2 separate regions of the Homo sapiens genome follow, and region 2 is linked to region 1. The links are contacts of gene promoters, found by promoter capture Hi-C in blood cells and fetal thymus (Javierre and others, 2016). All regions are on one chromosome and are shown on one strand. Each heading gives the region's core, a stretch centred on a gene start or on the middle of the fragment in contact. The rest is flanking DNA. Distances are from core to core; before and after follow the strand shown. Region 1 holds the start of APMAP (adipocyte plasma membrane associated protein). Region 2 has its middle 48 kb from the start of CST5.

The links. Contacts are between HindIII fragments. The CHiCAGO score rates a contact against its expected background, and 5 or more counts as called.
Region 2: a contact is called between a fragment that was not itself captured here and the fragment with the promoter of APMAP in region 1, in 3 of 17 cell types (non-activated CD4 T cells, naive CD8 T cells and activated CD4 T cells). The highest score is 6.9, in non-activated CD4 T cells.

The regions. Positions count from the first base shown.
Region 1 is chr20:24,989,849-24,996,960 of GRCh38, forward strand. It overlaps APMAP (adipocyte plasma membrane associated protein), which reads right to left and starts at 2,903. Exons shown (of 9, transcript NM_020531.3): 1 at 2,746-2,903. The coding sequence starts at 2,840. RefSeq lists enhancers at 2,456-2,956, 2,515-2,574, 2,595-2,674, 2,805-3,044, 2,957-3,457 and 1 more. The HindIII fragment of the contact is 12,703 bases long and covers 1,861-7,112 here.
Region 2 is chr20:23,924,367-23,931,478 of GRCh38, forward strand. No RefSeq gene overlaps it. Among named protein-coding and RNA genes, the nearest start is that of CST5, 48 kb to the left of the region's middle. The HindIII fragment of the contact is 4,392 bases long and covers 1,521-5,912 here.

The DNA of each region.
Region 1 (7,112 bases), core at 1,653-4,152:
CTCCATACTTCCTCCCTTACTCTTCAGTCTCCAAGAGGAAAAAGGAAAATGGACCTAGCAGACTTTTAATTAAACTAAAATCCTTCAGAAGTTTATTGAAAAAGGAGAATTATACAGAATTTAATGTATTGAAACATATTAAATCCTCAATGTATTTATTCTGCATCCCTAAACAGTCACATATGGACATTAAACAGTTCTCTTCCTAGATAGAACTGTGTTTCAAACAGAAAGGAATAGTTCCACAGAGTACAATTAAGTTTCTAAAGCATTTCGGGAAATCAATGTCAAATAATAATTATAAGCTTGCACCGGTATGTTAAAGTACTTAGCTCATCTATGTTCCACACTGAATAAAAGAATTTACCAACCAAATTCTCCATTATATTTCAAATACAGTAATTCAAGAGCTTTGGCATAAAGTCTTATTTCCAAAGCATAATTTTAAAAATACACTTCTCAGTCATTGTCCAGCTGCCAGTTCTATCCTTCTTCATTCATTTTCATTTCTCTTTTGACTCTATTCTCTGTAACTTCATATAAACCACCTCACACACATAGACCTCAATGATCTCATCAGCAAAACAAAGCAAACACCCACCTTTTGTGCCAAGAGTTGGGAGACCACCCAACGTATTACTAGGGGTCCCTACCACTGCTAAAATCTATGTCTTAGTTCTGTCAGTTTAGTAATATGTCTTTCAAGGCTTCCTTTATTCTATTTAGCACATCTAAAGTGCTAAAGTTTATTCTAATAGTTTCGTGTTTTTACTTCTGAATTTAGATTCCTTTACTTCGCCCACTATACACAGGCTTTCCTGGCTTATGTTGAACCCTCGACTTTTAAGGTAATCAAGAATACTATTACATGAACTACTAGAAATGACCACAAAATAAATGAAAAATATAGGAGAAATGCAGAAGAAAAATAAGAAAAACAGCTACCATGTTACAATAATAATTGCGGAAAGGAAGGGTGGTGACAAGACCTCACTTTGAAAGAGATCATTACAGATATACAGAAAAGGGATAAACAAACAAGAAGGACAAACACAGGGAAACAGGAACAATGTTCATGGACAGGGAAGTCAAGGAAATAAGTAAACATAAATGTAAAAGGCACACTGGAAAAGATCAGGCAGTAAAAGATGACTTTAGAATCAGATTTACTTACTCATTAAGGAAGAAATCCCCACAGAGAACCTGAAAAAAACAATTAAGTCTGCCTGCTTGCCCTGGGGCCAGAAGTGTGAGCCAGCCAACTTGAGAGTTGGGACTACCTAACCGGTGCCCTCAGGGGCTGTAGGCCCTGGTTTTCAACACACTGCACCTAATGACAAACTCAGGCCACTGCTCTTCCATTTCTCAGGTAAAAATGCCTTGTTTTCAAGATTTCTGTAGGAAAGTGTTGCCAATTCTTGCATGTCCATTCTAAATGGCTCCTCAATCATCAACAGATGATTAATTCACAATATTCACAGTAAGTAGGGTGATCAGATTGTCCCAGTTTGCCCAGGTTTAGCACTGAAAGTTCTACATCCTTGGAAACCCCAGTCCAGGGCAACGCAGGATGGTTGGTCAGGATATATGGGAGCATCTTCCCGATCTTTTCACTGGCCCAAGGAGTCAACTATCACCGCAAAGTCTTCTCTCTAAATTGCCTCTCTAGAGCCTAAATGCTCCTTCCTGCCATCGCTCTCCTTCAAATGTGTTCCTCTTATCATCAGTCAATAAACTCAGTCTACAGGGGCAAAAACTGCCTCTCATTCATATGTACCCCACCACCTCTTGGCACACTACTGATGAACAAATATTTCCAGTATTTCTATCAAATATAAGTCAATCAGTCCCACAACTTCAAGCTTGGTCTATGGGGCCTCTTGATTCTCCCTGAAACTTAAAAGTTATGAAATTCAGGACACAGAATTGAAAAGTGAATTTTAAGTATCTTATATTGAAATCTATGCTTACGAATCATGATTCAGTTTTTAGCTAACAAAACACAGCATTCTTATATTCTGAAAGATGGGAGAGGAGGCAAAGGGCAAAACCTGATATTTCTTAGGTGTCAACAACTACAGTTTCCTATGTTTCTCCATCCCTATCAGGAAAAACTGCCAGGCTGAATTCTCACAAAAATTGCCTACAATGTCACTACTGTTCTCCACTCTTTCCAAGAACCGCGGTGAGGACTGGTCACGCAGCGTGAGGGGGGCAGGTGCAGAAGAGCAAGTGTAGAAGCCATCTCTTCGCCGGATAACGAGGCAGGACCCCAGCATCTCGTGGGACCTCCTCCCTTCGGGAAATTGCGAGCGGGGAACCAGGAACACGCAGGGCCCCGGCCAAGTAGCTGTGCTCAGGGGGATCATTTAAGCCAAAGGAAGGACAGCGCGAGGGGAGCGAGGGAAAGGCGAGGAAGCAACCGCTATGCAGGGTGGGGCAGGAGTGAGGGAGGGAAGGCAAAGGAGCGGCGCGAGGCGGTCTCGGGTCCGGAGAGCCGAGGACAACGCGGCGACTGGGCGCAGGGTGCACCCGAACCTGAAAGACCTGGCAGGTACATCCGCCTTGTCGGAGCCTGCTTCCTCGGAAAAATGAGTTTTTCTTGGGGATGAAACGAGAGGACTCTGACAACGCGCTCGGCACCGCATCCCCAGGTTACTGTTACTGCCGTCGCCGCTGTCCAAGAGGGTCGCCCTCCACTCCTAGCGGCCCGGCTCCAGCGCCCAGTCTGGGAGTCCGCCCTACCTGCCGTCCTTAGCCTCCGGGGCCTGGCCATCATCGTCTGTGACGACCTGCGGCCGCAGGGGCCGGCGCTGTCGCAGCCCGTCCGCCTCGCTCATGGTACGGGCGCCAGCCTCACCCGCAGAAACCACCTCACACTGAGCGGCGCCGGCTCAGACTCCAGGCCCGCCCTCCCCCGTACGCGGAAATGACGTTGCGCCCAGGGACCATTCCGCAGCGTTCTCCCCGCCCCTTCCGGCCTCATGGGCGGGAGGTCCCCGGCGCGTCGTTGCTCGGCGCTCTGAGGCTAATTCTGACCGCCCGGAAGTGGGGCTCGGAACCCGCTCAGAGATAGCACCGGGAGCTGCCGGGGTCCCCGCCTGTCTCGGACTCCGGGGCCCAGAACGCGAGTGGTTCAACCTCGGGCTCGTCTAGCCCAGTGCCTGCGCATGCCGCCTTCGTCTCACGTTTCTGAGGACGGGGATGCTCATGACGCACTTGGGAATTGCTAGCACGAGATGTTGGCCACTTTTATCGTTGGAGAGGATAGCGCTGTTTATTCAGTGTCAGCGACCCTGCTCTTACAGGCAGCGTCAAAAATAATGCATTCACACCCTTGGAACGAAGTCACCTCTGCCTGAAAATTACATCCTTCCCCGACTCAGCCGGTTAAGGGGAAAACTTGGGCTAGAAAATGTTTCCCTCTGGTTAAGGCCAGATGTTGAGTATTAAATCTTTTTGTGACGATTACAACAGACATTTGATAAAGTTTATTAAGTTTTGATAAAGTTTATTAAGTTTTGATAAAGTTTATTAAGGATTACCCTTAAGTAAAGTCCAGGTAGAAGTAGAAATTATCACTAACAAAGTTTAAGAAAGCATAGAGAGGCATTGTTCTTTCAACAGTATTGCAGGAAACCAGAAATGTTCCCAGGTGCTGGGAGACGATGGTGGGCAAATCACAGACAAGGCCCCTCCTTATAGAAATTAAACTAGTGGGAAAGATGACTTTAATCAGATCATCATCATAAAATAGACGTAAAATTATCAAACGTAATAATTGCTTCAAAAGGGAAGAGCTGAATCTTGTGAGAGCATTTGAGATTCAAAGAGGAATCGAATCTGGAGGAAGTGACAGGCAGAAGAAATCAAAGCCCGTTACCAGTGGCACGAGGAATTATCTCTGGAAAAGCCATGTTCAAAATGCAGTGTTAAGAAATAATTTCCTCTTGGAGGCTTTTACCTTTTTAAATGCTAGATGGCACTAGAATTCCATGTGAATGCTTTTTATTTATTCATTCAAAGAGCGGAAGAACCAGCTTGAGGGAAGTGGAGAGCTGTGCAAATCCAGTTCTCCAGAGATCCCAGGTAATAATTCAGGCCTCGACAACATTTTACTTCATTCTGTGTCATTGAGAATAGCCAATACAGCTATTAAATCAGGGATAGTGTTAACAAAGTACTGTATGATCTCACGCCTTCCTGCCTGTCTGGACTATCCCTCTTGCTCCCCACCCCCCATTTCAGACATTCAGGATGGCTTAACATGTCTAATCTCATGCCTGGCTGCCTTTGTCCTTGAGGTTCCTTCTTCCTGTGATACACTCTCCTTCACCTCCACTTGGCCAATTATTTTTATCATTCAGGACCCACTTCAAGTATCCTTGCTGAAAATTCTTCTCCCAGTTTCCCAAGCAGAACATCTTCCTCTTTGTCTTCAAGGCACTTTAAACATGTCCCAGCCATAACATTGAACTCACTGCATTGGAGCTATTTGTGTTCCATGCCCAGTGTTAAAGCCCACGCACTGCAAACACCCAGGGACACATTCAGAAGAAAAATAATGGCAGTAAGTTGGGTTTACTGAACTTGCTGCAGCAAAGAAATGCACCAGAGGACCGGTGAGGTTCCTCAAAATGGGGGAGTCATGGGAGACTCCTTGTGGGGTTTGGGGGCTGGAGTTAGTCCATCGATAGTCTTGCCCAGGGTTGGTCAGAATCCGTTAACAACGGGAGTCACTGGAGGAACCGTGGCCTTAGCTCTGGGACATGTAAGTCCATTCGGAGTTATCAGGAGGTCAGCTCGTGGGCTTATCATGAAGCACGTAGGTAGTTGGTGTTACAGTGGTCTGAGCTAGATCATTTGTGCTGCATAGCACGGGTTCAGTACAGTTTTTCTGTTTTCAAGTCACGGTGAAGCACGCTTTGCTTGTTGTATTTGTTTCAGTTATCAGTTCTCCCACCCCACCTTCCAACCAGACCGACTTTGTTTCTCATCGTGCTGATGCCAGTTGTTGGCAGAGGAATGGGACCACTATGATTAATTTGATCAGGTTTCTCAGCACCACTGATATTTTGGGCCAGATAATTCTGTTAGGAGGCGGAGGGGGGCCTCTCCTGTGCGCTGGTGTTTCAGCAGCATCCCTGGGCTTCCCCCACTAGATGGCAGTAGCATCCCACCTAGTCGTGATGATAAAAAATGTTGCCAGACATTGACAGATAGCCCCTGGAGGACAAAACAGCCCTTGGTTGAGAAGCGCTGAGTGAGACCAACCAAAACCCACACCCAACCCTGGCACTGGGGATGAGGCTCACTTCCATCGGAACACTGGCCCACGTGGAGGGCATTTATCTCAACAAAAGCAGGCTCTGCCAGCATGGAAGAAGAAGCGCATGATGCTGGCAGGGAGCCCACAGTATGCCTCGCAGCTCAAACCAGAAGCAAACCCTACTTCTAGTCCAGTGCTTTTTCCCAGTCCCATGCTGTTTCAACTCCTTCCACAGAGATCTCCTGAAAGCCTGCCAGATGCCAAGTGCGGTGACAAAACAAGGGTGAAATACAGTGATCCAGCCTGCACAGGCGTTATCATCTTGGAGGGGAGAGAGGAAGCGTAACGAACGACACTATAAAGCACTGCTGCAGAAGAGCTGCAGGGTACCTTGGGGCTGCAAGGAGGAACAAGTGCTATTAGATGGGACTGACCAGAGATGTCTTCTTGGAGGAAGGGGCTTTGCACCAGGACTTAGATAAATAAGATTATAATGGCGGGGGGAGGGGGAGGTTGGGGGATAGAGAAGGACAAGAAACAGGCTAAGAGGGATGAGTGGGGTGCCCAGGGATTGTTAAACAAGGGGGTGATGATCAGGGATGGACATCAGGGTTACTGAGTGATCAGAAAGAATAGCCACAAATATATACGCCTGTTATGTACCCACAAAAACAAAAAATAAAAATAAATATTTTTAGCAAAGAAAGAATAGTCTGAAAAGGGCAAAGCAGAGCAGGAAGTAGCTGAACCCCTTCTTCCCCACAAGTCCAGGAAAGCACAGAAGGCGCTGCCAACTCGGAAAAGGGCTGCAAGGGAAGTTGTTCTGTCGTGGTGGGATGTCGTGGTGGGAAGCTCCAGTTTTAATTCAGGTGGGACAGTGGAGACAGTAAACTTAGGCAATGTACACTAGTTTGTTCACCGCAGGAAAAGCACCTTAGAGACCATGCAGCTACCAGAAACAGACATCCACCAAAGCTGGCGGAGAATGAGGGAGGGATGCATTGGAAGGATCTGGGGATACCTTATGGAACTCAGGCTCAGAAAGTACAGCCAGGCCTCACAGGGACTGGAACAAAGACCTGGGAACACAGGGGCAGAGTCACCCTCTGCCTCCTGGTGCCTCACACTGTCCTGTCTCTGCACCCCTCCGTGCTCACATGGCACGCCCTGCTGGGCTGGCCCTTTCTCTTTTGTTGCCCTCCCCTGGAGAGCTGGAAAAGATCAGTGTTACTCATCCAGCTGTCAAAGCTAATGCAGCCATAGGCAGTATTTTGGCACAAGATAAAAACAGAAATATAGTGACTATTTTGAACTTTAGGAAAGTTTTTGCATTTCTGATAAAAGGGACAAATGGGACTAGCACTGCCCCTTCTTCTCCTGCCTGGAACCCGAGAGTTAAGCATGGAGCAGCAGCATCTTAACACCACAGGAATACACCTTGATGTCTAAAAAACACACCCAGAACAGAAGAGCCTAGGTCCTTAATGGTGCCCCTGAGCTGTTCACCACAGCCAGCAACCACCTACCTCAGGGCTGCCTATCACATGAGAGAAACAGTCCTTTTATGCATTGAGGCAGCTCTCAGGGGAGCAATTTGCACTGCTCCTCAGGGCCAACAGGCTAGCATTGTCTACCTGGACATATCCATGGTGAAAAAGCATCGCCTAAGCCCAACTCTCCCTGGCTCTCCCATTTCAAGTATCCCACACCAACTAACTATGGTCTCCGTCTCCAAGTCTTGATTCCTGGACTGAGAATCTGATGTTCCCAACTTTGGTGAGGTTGATGATCCATGTTAGAGGATAAGACCCCGTGGCCCATTGACCATTCAACGGGAACAACA
Region 2 (7,112 bases), core at 2,467-4,966, 1.1 Mb before region 1:
GGCTGGATCAGCAGGAACCCGGCAGTGGGAACAATATTACTTACGGATGCTCATATTCATTGTTAAGATTGGGAAACTTGTTACCCAAGGCCAAGTGACCCTCTCACCCACTGTGAATCCAGCACCCCTAGAAAAGCTGTGCACCCCAGCAGATACAGTAGGAGGCCCAGGGATGGTGTTTACTGCTGGGTGAGGGAAGGAAGGCCCTCAAACAGGGCAGCGCATGATGCCTCCTAGTTAGACAAGAAAGACTGGGAGCTCCACAGATAAGAGAAAGAGGGGTCAGCCCCTGGCCAGGTACTTCCAAGCACAATGGTCATCTCCCAAGTGTGGGGGTTGGTTCTTCTCTGTGGCCCCCAGCTTCTTGAAGCCACTGGGGCTCCAATCTCAGGAAGATGTGTTGTACAGAGGGTAAGATTAAATAATCACAAATCTCCTAACTTCTATCACTAGGAAGAAGGTGCAGGTCACCCAGATAGGGGGAGGGTAGTGGTGAGTGGAATGTGGGGGAAGAGGGGCTGGAGTGCTGACCTGCACCCCTGAATGTGATGACATTACCTATGGTCATCCTCTGTCAGGACACTAGCATGTGCTGCAGGGAGGGCCAGCTGTCCTGATCAATGACTGCTGTAATCCTAACAGGACAGACAGCATTGGTGGGCACTCTCAGGAGCTACGGGAGCCAAGTCCAGTGCGGGTGATGGGAAGTGGAAGGTTAGGGTAGCTGGACAGCTGCTCCAGATATTTGGTGACCTTAGGCAAATGTTTTGCCTTCTCTGCATCATGCATCTGGAGAGGTGGGCGGCTTTGTAAACAGTAGTGTCTGACAGTTCAGAAGCAGCAAGATAAGCGGGCTTCAGGAGTGACATTTAAGCATGATTGAAAATGACTCAGTAGCATGATGTGGTGGTGCACCTGTAATCCCAGCTACTGGGGAGGCTATGACGGGGGATCCCCTCAAGCCCTGTAGTTCCAGACCAGCCTGGACAACATAGGGAAACTGTGCAGCATAGACCCCATCTTAAAAAAAATAAAACATGACACAGCTGTGTATGCCTTGATTCCTGTAACCTACAGCTTCAAGGACAAGGTAATAGGGACCCAGAGAGAAACAATGGACCCAGGACTGAGCCTGGGGCCTCCAGCACCCAGGTAACCTGGAGAAGTCCAGCTGCACAGGAGGGGGCATGTTTCCCTTCTGCCAGGTGATGAAAAAGAAAGCTGTGTTCTCCCAGGCTGTGTGGGGTACTATTGATCTCATGATCTGAATTAGTGAGAATTTAGGTGAGTGGCAGAAGTTCTCTATAATAAATAAGCAATAATAAGTGAACACTAAACAATGCTATAATAAATCATCAAGCACATAAACATCTACTAAAGGTGCAAGTGGTCAGGACAAGTTGGCCAAGAGTTGAGATTCTGCACATTTGGGTTTTGAGAAATTAACATTCAGCATCTATGGTAGGAGCTTGGACAGAGCAGCCACTTGATTTGCTGGTTTCTCAAAGGGGAAGCCCAGAAGCTTCCTTTATAGAGTGCCTGGAGTTCTCTGGGGTCAAGCCTTCCCTTACACACACCCTCCCTCCTTCTCCCTCCCCACCAGATGCTTCTAGACCATGGGCCAATGTTGGTATCTCATTTGGTTTTGAGATGATGCCACATCATTGGGAAACTGTGATACTCATGGGGAAGGCTGCTGACAGCCCCTGCCGAATGTGACGAGAGGGCAGAGCCCAGTGTCTGAGGTCTGACTGTTTTGAGCTTCATGGGGAAAAGAGAATCCTTGGGACATTTCTGCTCAGGGACCAGTATATGAACAGTGCTCGTGGTTTTGGATTATAAGTTACCACTGACTTTCTCAAGGAGTGCATTCACCAGAGCAGAGCCAGTGACTGAAGAACCACACAGCCTAGTGAAGAGGACAGGGAGAGGCCTCCAGGAACTCGGGTTGCTAGCTGGGGCAGGCTGGGCTGCGCCTGACTCCCTGGGCTGCAGACTGCAGGGGACTGGCCTCAAGGGAAACAGATGGCTCTGAGCGGGAGAGCAATCCCCTTGGCATCTCTGGGTGGTCAGACTTTCTTATCCTGTTTGGGTCACTGCTGGGATTTCCCTGTCACTGTTTGTGTAACCTTAAATATCAATTCCTTTAGCAAAGTGCAGTGACTGTGGAGAGTGGTTCCTGTTCCTGGTTGGAATCCTGTTCAACTCAATCACTGAGTGCTGGAGCTGGAGCCAGAGGCCATCAGGACAGCCCTGCCTGCTCCTGTGGCCCTGCCTGCCCTTTCCTCCTGTCACAGAGGGGCTGGATCCAGAGATAAGACTCACCTTGACCAAACCTTAGTTAAGCTCGTCTGAGCCACCTTCTTCCCTTGGCCTCAACCCTAGTCCCCAGCCCCTACCTCCTGCTCTTGCGAGGGCTGCAGTGCCCAGGTTTAGGAAAGAATCCTGCTAAGTCAGTTCAGAAAGAATCCCCTCACCCTTGGTATCTGATCACCCTCAACATCTGACCAAGTTCCTCATTTCTCAACTTTGATGTCTAAGGCTTTGTCCTGCCTTTAGCAAGAATATTGTTAGGTCAATTTAGCAAGAAACTCCCACATTTGATGTCTCTGCTTAGTAATTTTTTTTAATCTATTAACCCTGCTCCCTGCTCCTTGGCTATATATCCTCACTTGCCCTTTTTATATTCATAGTTGAGCTCTCTCTCTTTTATTGTGAGAGTGTTGACCCTATTGCAATTATCTTGAGTCATCTCAACCAAGCTCAGGCTTCCAGCAGTGAAGCTCCTCATTGCCCTGCCCATGATGTTATCACTGGATGTCCTGCAGGCATCACCAGTTCTGTATGTCCATTGACCTTCATTTTGCCCATAGACCTACCCTTCGACTAGTGTCCCCATCTGTGTTAGTAGCCCCATCCTTGCCCATGGCTGTGACAAGAGATATATTTGTGACAAGATATTCATTCTCTTGGTGCTTCTGTTTCCTGATTTGTAAAACAGGAATGACAATGATTACAATAGGCTGTGTAATAAGGAACTGCATGATCTCATTGGCCTATGGCAATGACCAGTTATTTTGCTCACATCTGCAGTCCAGCTGGGAGTCACTGACCTGGAATGGGATTGTCTGAGCTGGCTCTGCTCCACATCTGTGATCCTTCTCCAAGGAGATAGCTGACATTTTTCATATTCTCGCATGGCAAGAGCAGGGTGCAAGAGGGCAAGCTGAATTGCACAAACTTGTTTCAAACTTCTGGTTACTTCACACCTTTGGTTAAACTCCTTTGGTTAAAGCAAATCACACGGCCCAGCCCAAAGGAAGTGGTGCAGAAGTGCACTTTGCCATGGAGAGTGGGGTACAGGGAGTGAGTATTTTGAACAAATAGATTTAGTGTCAGGAAAACTAAATCAAATGCTTGTGAGTTGATAGTGCAGTGCCTGACATACCTATTGATTGATCAATTGATCTCATCTATCTAATCTATGTATATATCTATGTATCAAATCTATGTATCTGTCCATATATCATGTTTCCACTCTATTCCTCATCTTTCCCCAGACAATAATAATTAAAGTCCTGTAAAATTCTCTGAGTTGTATTTTCTTTCTTTTTTTTTTTTTTTGTTCTTCACATTGCCACAGCTATGAGAACGCTCATGGATGTCTTGTGACTGTCTGATCTTTGAGGAATCTTCACTCTACTCTGTGCCTCCACTCCTGTGCTGTCCTACCCACCGCAGCAAATCAGATTGTGATCCTTGGTTCACAGCCTCCCATGGCTTCCGAGTGTCCTTAAATTGAAACTCTGATGAGTACTTGGCATCTAAACCTGTCCCTACCCTCCCTTGTGCCTCCTGCAGGCAAGTGGGCTCTGGCCTGGCCTGAACTTTGGGCTGAGAGTCTGGACTGTTCTGCACCTAGAAATTTGCTCACAATCCTGAGTGCACCTGGTCCTGCACCTGTTTAAGATTTTTTGAAAGGCTCACCCTCCGGGGGCAGCTTGATGGGTTTGATAGTTCTAGTGCTATAGAAAGAGGATGCAAGCCGGTGAGAAGGCAGATGGAGAGCATGAAATGTAGGCTGGATTCAGAAGGAAAGGGCTGCCCTCCAGCCGCCCCATGGCAGTTGCAGACACCAGCAGAAACCACAGTCTATGGGGGAGGGGATTTTCCCCCTCTCTACCCCACATGGGGTGGACTGTGGGTCTTTGCTGGGAGAGCTGTTCAGAGCATCCTGTATGCATTACCTGCTGCTGCATCAGCAGCCACCCTGAATTTTCCTAGCTGAAAGTCACGTAATGTATGGATTCTCACGACTCTGGAGCTGTCCTCGGCTCTTGCGCTGGTCTTGCTGGGTTCACTCGCGGGCTGCATTCAGGTGAGGTAGGCTGGGAATGTGCTCAGCAGGCACAGTGGGCATCTCTTTCCAGGTGGTCTTTTAGCCTTAAGAAGGTTAGAGGATGCTTTCACATGAAGACGAGTTCCAAGATCTTATTTCAGGAGCTCAGCGCCTAGGTGTGGCCCGGCCCCAGCCATTGCAGACTCCTGCCAGCCGTTGTCTCATTCATCAAAGCAGGTCACGTGGCCAAGCCCAGCCTCAGAGTGGGCGGGGCCTCACAGAGTGAGAGGCGAGGCCCCGTGCATTGTGGTTGTTTCCTGTGTCTACCTCCGCTCCCTGCACAGAATCCAGGAGAGAGATGTGAGCCTGGACCAGTCTGATGTCGAAAATACAGATTTTTATAGATGGCTGTTTGAGGAAAATTTGGCTTCCTGTAATATCTGGATTGAGATGAGGTGTCCAGAGGAAGGCACTGAAGCTCAGGAGTCAGGAGCTGAGTTTACCCCGTCCCTCTCCAGGTTGGCTTAGAAAGTTCTAAATATCTGAGAAATAATCAAACAAAAATAGGGTAGCCAATATGGGAGTCCCCAGTCCTGCTTCTGTTGTTTCTCTCCTGCATCACTTCATCGAAACTAAAGGTGGATTCCAGCTTCTTTAAATATTGTTTTCTTACCTAAAGCAGTAGCCCTTCCTAGGTCCTTCTCATGCCCTTGGCTTCTCTATTTTTCAGCATGTCACTTTCTGGTTAGGGCGTGGTGTATGAAGGAGAGCTGGGCTCTTCTTCCCACATTGCTTTGCTGTTCTGATGTAATGTTTGGGTCCAGCACCTCAGCAGTGAGGAGAGCACACAGGCGATCAGGATCACTTATGTGTATCTGGGAAGAGTTAAATGCTGTCTTGTGTCTCCCAGATATGGGCACCAGTCAGGAATTGCTAAAAGGAAACAATTAAACCTCTTGTTTCTAGTCTTTCCAACAATTACTTTATGAGATAGTTTGAATATACACCCCCATCAAATCTCATGCTGAATTCCAGTCCTGTGTTGGAGGTAGAACCTGGTGGGAGGTGTTTGGGTCATAGTTTCTGATCCCTCATGGCTTGGTGTTGTCCTCACAATAGTCAGTGAGTTCTCTAGAGATCTGGTTGTTAAAAGTGTGTAACATCTTCCTCTAGGTCTCTCTCTTGATCCTTCCCTTCGTCCTGTCTATCTAGAAAGAGGGACCAGGAAAGGTCACTCTGAGGATGTGGCATGGGAGCTGGACTCTGCAGGAGGAGAAGCAGCCAGCTGCACCAACCCAAGGGTGGGGTGTTTCTGGTCAAGAACAGCCTGAACTGACCTTGAGGCAGAAATGATCTTAACCTGTGGAAGCTCCTGAATGGAGTGTCAGGGACCGGCAGGCAGGAGAGGTAAGAAGACCGGGTTTGGTGGATGAGCAGATGTCAGTTCCCACCACGAGGAAGAACTCCTATTTTATTCAAAATGCAATGAGAAGCCTTTGAAATGATTTACTGGGACATAGCATAACACCTTATATGTTATTAGAAGGCTGACATGGCCACACAGAGGGAAAAAAGCTTTTAGTCAGTGAGAATGGGAGGGTGGGGGACAGTCAGGAGGACATTGTAGTCATCCAGGAAAGGGAGGAGAGTGACCTGGGCCAGTGCAGTGGCCAAGAGGTGGAGCACAGGAGACTCAGGATGCCTGTGAGAGGTGGCATGGCAGGACTTGCTGAGGGCTGGGGTGAGGGTGCAGAAGGAAGGAAAAAAACAGAACTCTAGCCCAGGCCTCATGACGGGGCAGGAAAATTACTAAGCTTGAGGAGATATGAGGATGAGCAGATTGTCTGGGCTTGGGCCTCAGGGAAAATTTGAGAGCGTCCTTAGAGATTGTTGGGACATCATGTGTGTAGAACTGTGGATGTCAAATGCCAGCCCATAGATCTATTACTGAAGTGCCAGGGGCTTAGTCTAGGATTCATTGCTTGCAGCACAGGAAGCCAAACACTGAGACAACAAGTATTGTCAAGGAAGAAGGCTGTAATCAGGTGCTGCAGCTAAGAAGATGGAAGGTCAGTCTCAAATCCATCTCCTCATATGACTAAAATCAGGGATTTAAATAGCAGGGGAGAAATGTGCTCATATTCAGGAAAACAGGATTAGGGAAGTGTAAGGAATAGGAAATTGTAAGCAGGAATCATGATGGGTGAAGGTCCTGGCATCTCATTGTCCAGATGCTGTGATCTGGTGAGTGTCAGTTCCCTGATGCTATCTGGGAGCCCTGAAGTCTGATTTCCTGAGCAAGGAACTCAGAGAAGGCACATGTGAGTTTCTCAAGTTTTAAGACTGAAAGGGTCAATATCTGTGTTTATTCAAAAGAAACCATAAATATCAGTTCTATGGGCCAGTTGGGCCAGTTTCAACCCCCTTTCTATGTATCGATTTCCAAATCATGGGGAATCTGTTCATTGATCTTTCTGACTGCCTCATGCTGAAGACAAGGGTTGTGGGATAGGGGCTAAGAGCCAGCCCATTTCTGGGGGCTATTGTATGCTCAGCAGTGCAAAGAGCAAGACCTATTTCCAGGTAAGATTTGTCTCTTGGCAACTGGGGTCCCCTTGGCCACAAGTGAGTTTGCTAAGTTGGTGGGGGGTCTTAGAACTTTATTTTGTCCCATACTATTGCTGGAGTGGTATACTACACTTCCTGCCATGGTTCATCCTGTTCCTCAGTGGAAAGCCTATGGCCAAGGGACTTACAGTCAAGAGACTTCCAG